Linked DNA regions of Homo sapiens: region 2 is linked to region 1. The links are contacts of gene promoters, found by promoter capture Hi-C in human tissues and cell types (Jung and others, 2019). All regions are on one chromosome and are shown on one strand. The core of a region is centred on a gene start or on the middle of the fragment in contact, and the rest is flanking DNA. Distances in the headings are between cores, read along the strand shown.

Region 1 (3,967 bases), core at 279-2,778:
TTGAAAGAGATGCCTTCCTCAAGTTTCTTAATAATGTCAAGCTTGTCCTTAATTGTCAACACCACACGCTTACGTTTCCCCAACATTTTAAGTGTCTAATATTTTAGGTGATTACTAGAACAAGATAATTAACAACTAAGATTTGAATACAAAGCAACTAGAAAATGAGTTCGTAAGATTCCTCCTCTCACTTCTAGGGCCTAGATGGATAGTGACCAATTTCCTGACAAGGTCTACGTGAATCTACTTGCTATTTTAAAACTTACAAACTTCCTACAACAAAGCCTAGCGCCAATTAACTCTTATCTTCTATCTTTCTTCCTCCTCAGGGTTCAGGGTCTTTCATGAAGTGCAATCACACTAGAGGCTAGAAACTGTACTGGTAAGGCTTCTAAAACAGTACTATTGCATACTCAATTCTTGCCATCCTTGCAGGTAATGTTCTTTGCCAGAATAGCCACTAAATCTCAGGTGGAAGTATTTTAGGAAATGTGCTAGGGAGTAAACAGTTTAAGTCAAGAGAGGACTTGCAAACTTGACATACAGGAAAATACAATGGGAAAACTCACCCTCTGACTATGTGGTCTTTGTCAAGCAGTGGATTGTATGGAATGCTGTCTCTCTAGGCACGGACTCTGCTATAGGTTGCGCAAGTGAGTGCTTGTGGAAATCATACGCAAGAGAAGATGACCCGGACAGAAGTGAACAGTGCAAATAAGGTGAAAGTGGAACAGGCAGAAAACTCTACTTTAAAAGCGACTTAAACCTACTAGATTTGGCAGCTGGAAAGGAGGATAGTGGACATGTGATGTCACATTACTAAAGAAAGCATCAAAAAAACTGCATCGGTGGAAATGAGGACCCAAGGTAGAGGCTATGGGGTGGCAGGCTCGGTGAAGATGATGTTACAATAATCCTGGTGAAAGACGATCCTCGATGGACCAACAGAAGCAGTTCCTGTGGGGGCTGTAGAGATACTCGGAGGCTCCGAAACCTAAAGGAAAATACCAAAAACATTTTCTTTCAATTCAACATCAGGATCTGTGGCATTATCCACATTTATCCTGCAACTATGTTGAGAAAATTAACGCCTCCTATCAATGTGATAGCTAAATACGACAAATAATGCTTTCAGGCATAATCTGGGGTGACAGAGAGAGGGACCTGAAGAGCCTACCTCCTGAAATTAAGAGGTCAGGGAGAAGCCGTGTTAGCGAGGGCCTCTCCCCGCTGGGCGAGCTTCAGAGCGCGGGACGTCTTTCCTCCCGCGGAGGGAGCCCGGATTCCGCCTGGACGCCGGCGACCAGGATGTCACTGCTGCAGCCAGCCAGCCAGCGGGCGGCCGCTTGGCACAGGGAACGCCAGTCCGCCGGCCCCGGGCATCGCCCTGGGACCGCCTGCGCGGCGCCCAGACCACACTAAGCGCAAATGGAGTCTCCTGAGGCAGGCTGGCACTGGTGGCCCGGCAGCGGCGAGGGACGAGCGGAGAGGGACGAGCGTCGCCGCCGGAGCCGGAAGGCGGGGGATTAGAGAGCACGCGCGCGCCCCCGCAGAACGTTGTGCCGGCGAGGGGGCGGGGCCTGCGCGGGTGAGCGCACGCGGCCCGGGGGAGGGGACTCCGGCGAGCGGGCGGGAGGGGCGGGGGCCCGGCAGGGGTGCGTCTCTAGGCGCTGCGTGGGTTCCACTCACCGCCTGGCCGTTTCGGGGCCGCAGTGCCTCCCTGGCCGGCAGGGGGAGGCACACGCTCGCCTTGTCCTGGCGCTTTTCCCAGTGGCCCGGCTCTGCCGACGAGGCTCTTTTCTCCCTAGGGGGAAATTTTAAAATCTCACCCCCCCAGTGCTGGGGGGAAAGCGGAGGATCCTCGCGTGCCGGGAGCGGGCTGCGAATGGGGCAGGGCGAGCGCACGTGGGGCGTGTTTACAAACAGCAGCCGCGCCGCCTTGCGGAGGCGGTCCAGGTGTCGGAGCCCAGAGTCAGCGCGCGTGGAAAGTGCTAGCCCGAGCGAGGATCATGAGGCACGGTAGGAGCCGGCGGACGTGGGTTCCGGGCAGGAGCTGGGGCGTTCGCTCGGCAACACCCAGCCGGACAAGCCCAGGGTGCCGAGGCGCGGCGGGCTGCGGTAGAGCCGAGTGTCGGGTCAGCGCTCCCCGGTGCTGATGCTCCGAAACTCGTCACAGTCGCTGTAGAGACGGACCCTTTGCAAAATCGACAGCACCTGGGAGACCCTTGAGCCAGTGGGAGGCGTCGTGGTAAATTTCCTGCCGTGCCTCGACGCCCGGGGCTTCTCAAGTGGAATCGGGGAATTGCGCTTTGACTGATACTCCCTTTATTTGTTTCCAACGGAGACATCTGCGGAAGGGTCACCGCCTTCCTGGAGGAGAGAGTGGTGCACCTCCACCTTGCACCACCTGTTTCCTGGGAAACGCGGTCAGGCTGCCTTCCTTTCCGTCTTGTGTGTGCGTGTCAGTTTGAAAAATTGGAAATTCTTCAGTGAATTATCTCTTCCATATGAACATAAATGTAACCTTTTCGTTAACACAAAGTAACATAGTAATTCGTCATTTCTTTGACAAGGCCATATACTGTTTCTGGAATTTCAGAAACTTGGAGATGGAAATCAAAGCGAGCATACTGTAGAAAACAGATGTTGATTCTAAGCCTTCTGTTTGACTCCGCCGCCAAAACTGCTCAATTGCCTTTCTCAACATAGCAGCCTTCCACTATCTGGCATGACAGAAATTCTTTGATCTAGTTATGTTGTGAGGTTGTAAGTGGCTTTTGGAGAATACCTGCTTTTAGACCTCCCCTCTTCCCTGCCTTCCATTTGGCTTCCAACAAGCCAGTCCCTTTCTGGAAGTCCTGGTTGCCTGTTTTGGGTACATTATAACTTACTTCATGGTAGTTTTATATAACTTTACAAAATATTCTTATTTTCCCTGATACCTGTGAAGAGCGTGAAAGACTGCTAGAACAGCACTTTACCGACTGCCACCCATGTGGAAATGAGGCAGCCTGTAACCAGATGTCAGCCGCCTGCCTTTCCGCCTCTCCCCCGAGTCTGCTGGAGTAGCTGTGTCCCAGGATATTTAAATACAAAGGAATCCTGCCTCTTACTCTTCCTCTCTTTTCCACAGTATCTCTAGGATTTAATTTTCTTCCAGATACCATTTGCATTTTTCTCTGTTCCTCCTGGATTCTCCAGTTTGCTGTTTTATGTCTTATAGCTGTTCCCTTTTTATCACCTTGTGTAAGTTCAAATCTGGATACAGCCCACATTTCTAGATTTTCTCAAAACACCGCTTGACTCAAGGCAATTGTATTTAGTAGACTTTTACTAAGATTTTACTCAAGGCAATTGTGTCTTTACACAAAACAGTTTTATTGGGCAAACTTTCTCCTTTTGTTGGGGGAAGGGGTGGCTAGTTGTGGCAGACATATTACAGCACAAGGGGGAGAGGACTTAGAATGTTAAGAATATGTATATATACACACATATATATATAATAAGAATATATGTATGTGTATGTATGTGTATTTTTGAGACAGGGCTTCTCTCTGTTGCCCAGGCTAGAGTGCAGTGGTACGACCATGGCTTGGGCTCACTGCAGCCTCAACCACCTAGGCTCAAGCAGTCCTTCTGCCTCAGCCTCCCGAGTAGCTGAGACTGTAGGCTACAGGTGCGTGCCATCATGCCCAGGTAATTTTTGTATTTTTTGTAGAGATGAGGTCTTGCTATGTTGCCAGAGCTGATCTCAAACCCCTGGGCTCAAGTCATCCTCCCACCTTAGCCTTCCAAAGTGCTGGGATTACAGGCATGTGCCATCCTGCCTGGCCAATAATAGATTCTTAAGGTGGTGAAACTACTCTGTACAACTGTAATGGTGGGCACATGTCATTAAACATTTGTTCAGATGCACGGAATGTACAACACCAAGAGTGAACCCTAATGGAAACTATGGACTCTGTGA
Region 2 (3,914 bases), core at 982-3,481, 600 kb after region 1:
TGTACTAGAACTGTTTCTTTAGAATAGCTCCTCAATTTGTTTCTCCATCGGATGCAATTCTAGGGGAACTGCCAATCATCTTAGCCTTTCCTGGCCATGGAATGGGTATGAGACTCAAGGTAGACAAATAAGAAAGATCATCTCTCTTTGGAATTTAAAAACAGCTTTATTGAGATATGAGGCATACAATAAATTACACACATTTAAAGTGTGTAATTCGACAAATTCTGGGATATGTATATACCCGTGAAACCATTCTCACCATTGAAATAATGAACATATCCATCATCCCCCAAAGCTTCCTTGTGCCATTCTGTAATCCTTCCCTCCTGTCCCTCCTCACCCCCATCCCATTTCCCAGGCAACCACTGATCTGCTTTCTGTCACTATACTTTACCTTGCATTGTCTGGCATTTTATATAAATGAATCATACAGGATATAATCATTAACTTCCTTCACCCAGTATAATTATTTTGAGATTCCTGCATGTTGTTGTGTCAACAGTCCATTCCTTTTTATTGCTGAATATTATTCTATAGTATGGACAGACCACGATTTATTTATGTATTCACCTATTGATGGACATTTGAGTTGTTTTCCACTTCTGGCTATTATAAATAAAGCTGCTATGAACATTTGTATGTAATCCTTGCATGGACATACGCTTTTATTTCTCTTGGGTAAATTCCTAAGAGTAGAATAGCAGGATCATATGGTAGATACTTCTTTTTAAGAAACTGCCTAACAGTTTTCCAAAGTGGTCAAACCATTTAAATTCCCACCAACTGTATATAAGAGTTCTAGTTCTTCCACATTCTTATCAACACTTGGTACGTCTATTTAATTTTAGCCATGGTAATAGGGGTGATGTGGTACCTTACTTGGGTTTTAATTTGCAGTTCTATAATGACACGTTGTTAAGCTTATTTGCCATTGATATATCTTGTGTCTGTTCAAATCTTTGCCCATTTTAAAATTGTGTCTTCATTATTGAATTTTGAGAGTTCTTTACATATTGTGGGTAGGATACAAGTCTGTCTTTGTCCATTTTGTGCCGCTATAACAGAATACCTGAGACTGTGTAATTTAAAGAACAGGAATTTATCTCACAGTCTGGTGGCTGGGAAGCCAAGATCAAGACATCAGCAGATTTATTCTCTGGTTCAAGCTGGCACCCTTGTTGCTGTGTCTTCAGAGTAGGAGAATTGTGTTCCTCATGTGGCTGATTGTTGCAAGACTCCTTACTTGGAGTCAGAGCAATAGTAGGTAATACAGTTCTATGTAAAGAATAAAGGAGGAAGCAAAAAGGTTCCAGTCAGTTGAAAAGATTCCCTTTAAAAAGACTCCTCAGGAGTTTTGTGTGGGGCTGTGTCTCTGTCCACCCAAAGTCCCCTGGATCACCCGGAGAGGGATTGGGAGCTGGAGCAGTGAGCAGAATGAATACCTCACATGACCAGAGTGGCTACTCCAGTAATAGAGAACCCCTTTTGAGATGTAGTAATGCATGGAAGGACTTGGAGCTTGCTATTGGTGGAGTTCCCTGGGCCAAACAGCAAATTAAAGATAACTTGTGAGAAGTCAAAACTCAGATTCAGAGTTGTATAAGCTGTCACCTAGAATGCCTTACGAACTGTGAGGTGGCTGTATGAACAGGTAGACCTCATCTATCAGCTTAAAGAGGAGACACTTCAGCCACAGGCCCAGCAGCTCTACTGGTTATTGGGCCAGTTCAATGGTCTTATTCATTAACGGAAGTGCACCCAAAACAAAGATCTAGCCAAGTCTCTGTGTGCCTGGAGAGACTGGGCAGTTTGACCCTTAAGTTTGAAGATTCAACTGTCCTGCTGTTTGAAGCAGACACAACTGCTCTGCATGACTATCACCACATTTGGGTTTCTCAAGACCATTCAAATTCCTAAACACTTCATGCCTCATGCTAGCTTATCAAGTATCAGGCCCTTCCTGGAGAAGAGAGGCTATATCCTAATGCCAGAGCAGAAGTCAGCATCCAGCATCACAGATGTCCCTCTCAGGGAATGGCTCCTTGGAAGCAACCATACCAGTGGTCTTCAGGAACAACCCCCCACGACTGGCTCACCCAAAAGCAGACGTTGGAGAATAGACTTCTTCCAGAGCCTGCAGTTTCTTCAGTAATGTCTCAGGCAACCTAAAGGGCTTTGAAAACTTGCTCCTCAAGAGTCAGCAACAAGAAGTTCCAGAAAAACCAAGTTATCCAAAGTGACAGCCATTTTACTACCAGTTCTTTCTCCATTTAATTGAAAAGGTGGAAGATCTAGAGCTTTCTGATCAAGGTGAGATGATCTATCTAGTGGCTGGTGATTCCCCAGGAATCCTGTAAGTTGGAGAAGCCTGAGAATGGCAGTTATGAAACCAGTGAGAAGTTTAAATTCTTGTTCCATTCCTACAATGTGAATGATTGGCTTGTCAAAACCAACTCCTATATCAACTGTTGGGTCAACCAGCCCAATAGTGTAGAGATTTTGAAAAACCTGGGCAATGTGAAGTGCCTGAATGACTACTTGGAAGCCAAGAAACTATTTTCTACCCTCAGCATCGTTTCTGAGGATTGACTTGTCCAGAACCATCAGGACCCATATAAAGTAGAGGACATATGCACAGCCAATGAGCCCTGCAGAAGTTTTGCAGAGTGTATGATGAGAATTGAGAAGGAAGCTCTGTGTAAGTGGCTTCTAAAGAAAGATAGACAAAATAATGGGATGCCTGAGGAAACCAAACCTGAGCCTGAGAAGCATCAAGATTCCCTGAATATGTGGTCCTGTCCTTCAAGAAAAGAACAAGCTAAGGCATCAAAGGCAACGGCTCCTTCTAGAATTGCTGATTCAAGTCATAAACAACAGTCCCTTGTCAGAGTGGCTAATCCAGCCCCCATATAAGGAAGGAATTCCCAAGGAAGTGCCTAGTACTGAGGACAGGGCTGGCCAACAAAAGCTTAAAAGCCCCACAATCACTTCCTGGTGTCCCTTTAATACAGCTGACTGGATCCTGCCAGGAAAGAAGATGGGCACCCTCAGCCAGTGATCCTCTGGAGAAGACAAGTGGCTACTTCGGAAGAAGGGCCAGGAAGTATTACTTAATCCACCCCTACAGGAGGAACATAACTTCCCCCAAGACCATGATGGCTACCCTACATTTTGTGATCTCTTTGCCTGTATGAAGCTTAAAATCGAGAAAGAGAAGTGATTATATCAAACTCCTCTACAGATGTGAAGGAACAGACAAGAGTTCAGCAGCTTTTCTGCAGATTATTACACATCCATGAGCTAAGTGACTGTGACTTGCCAAATAATTGTGTTTCTGGGTCCGACCAGTTAGCTTAGTCCCTTTCCTGCCTAAATTTGAACTAGTGAAGAAAAATACATCATCGGATTATGAGTTACTATTTAAACAAAAAATGCTGAGGTGACTCAGTTCTTTCCTTTTTACAGAAGTATTAATTCACCCCACACTAGAAATGTAGCACCTTGGTGGAGTTTTTCACAAGCCTCCCACACTCCTTAGATTGGGTTATTACTAAAAGTACATTAAAACACTGTAGTTTTAAAAAGAAGTATTTCTGTAATTGAAGTGTATTGTATTCTAAAGCTAGTAAACTTCCCTAACTTTTAATTGTTCTTTAGCTGCTTCTCTTGCTGTTTTCTTCTATTAGAGGCTGAAATAATTTTTCTCTTCTATTAATATATATTTTGCACAAAAAATTAATCCTGCCATTAGTGATTACCAAAACATGTACTAATAATCTTGGTAATTTTTGACACTAATTACCAAACATTTTAGCCTACATATTAGTTTTACATCATTTTTCTTCTTCACTTGAAAGAAACTGAGCTACTGCAATGTTTTTCTTTATTCCTTTTTCTAAATCAAACTTGTC

What was found. The method cuts DNA at HindIII sites, captures the fragments that hold promoters and counts their contacts. A contact is called where the count stands out against the background at its distance.
Region 2: a fragment that was not itself captured here is called in contact with the fragment with the promoter of TIGD2 in region 1 in 1 of the 25 tissues and cell types used here (spleen).

What each region holds. Positions count from the first base shown.
Region 1 is chr4:89,109,094-89,113,060 of GRCh38, reverse strand. TIGD2 (tigger transposable element derived 2) reads right to left here and starts at 1,528. Exons shown (of 2, transcript NM_145715.3): 1 at 1,178-1,528; 2 at 1-994. The coding sequence starts at 86. RefSeq lists a silencer at 1,271-1,720 and enhancers at 1,801-1,880, 1,911-2,020. The HindIII fragment of the contact is 12,010 bases long and covers 1-3,967 here.
Region 2 is chr4:88,507,927-88,511,840 of GRCh38, reverse strand. It overlaps the pseudogene NCOA4P2. Among named protein-coding and RNA genes, the nearest start is that of PIGY, 14 kb to the left of the region's middle. The HindIII fragment of the contact is 3,240 bases long and covers 612-3,851 here.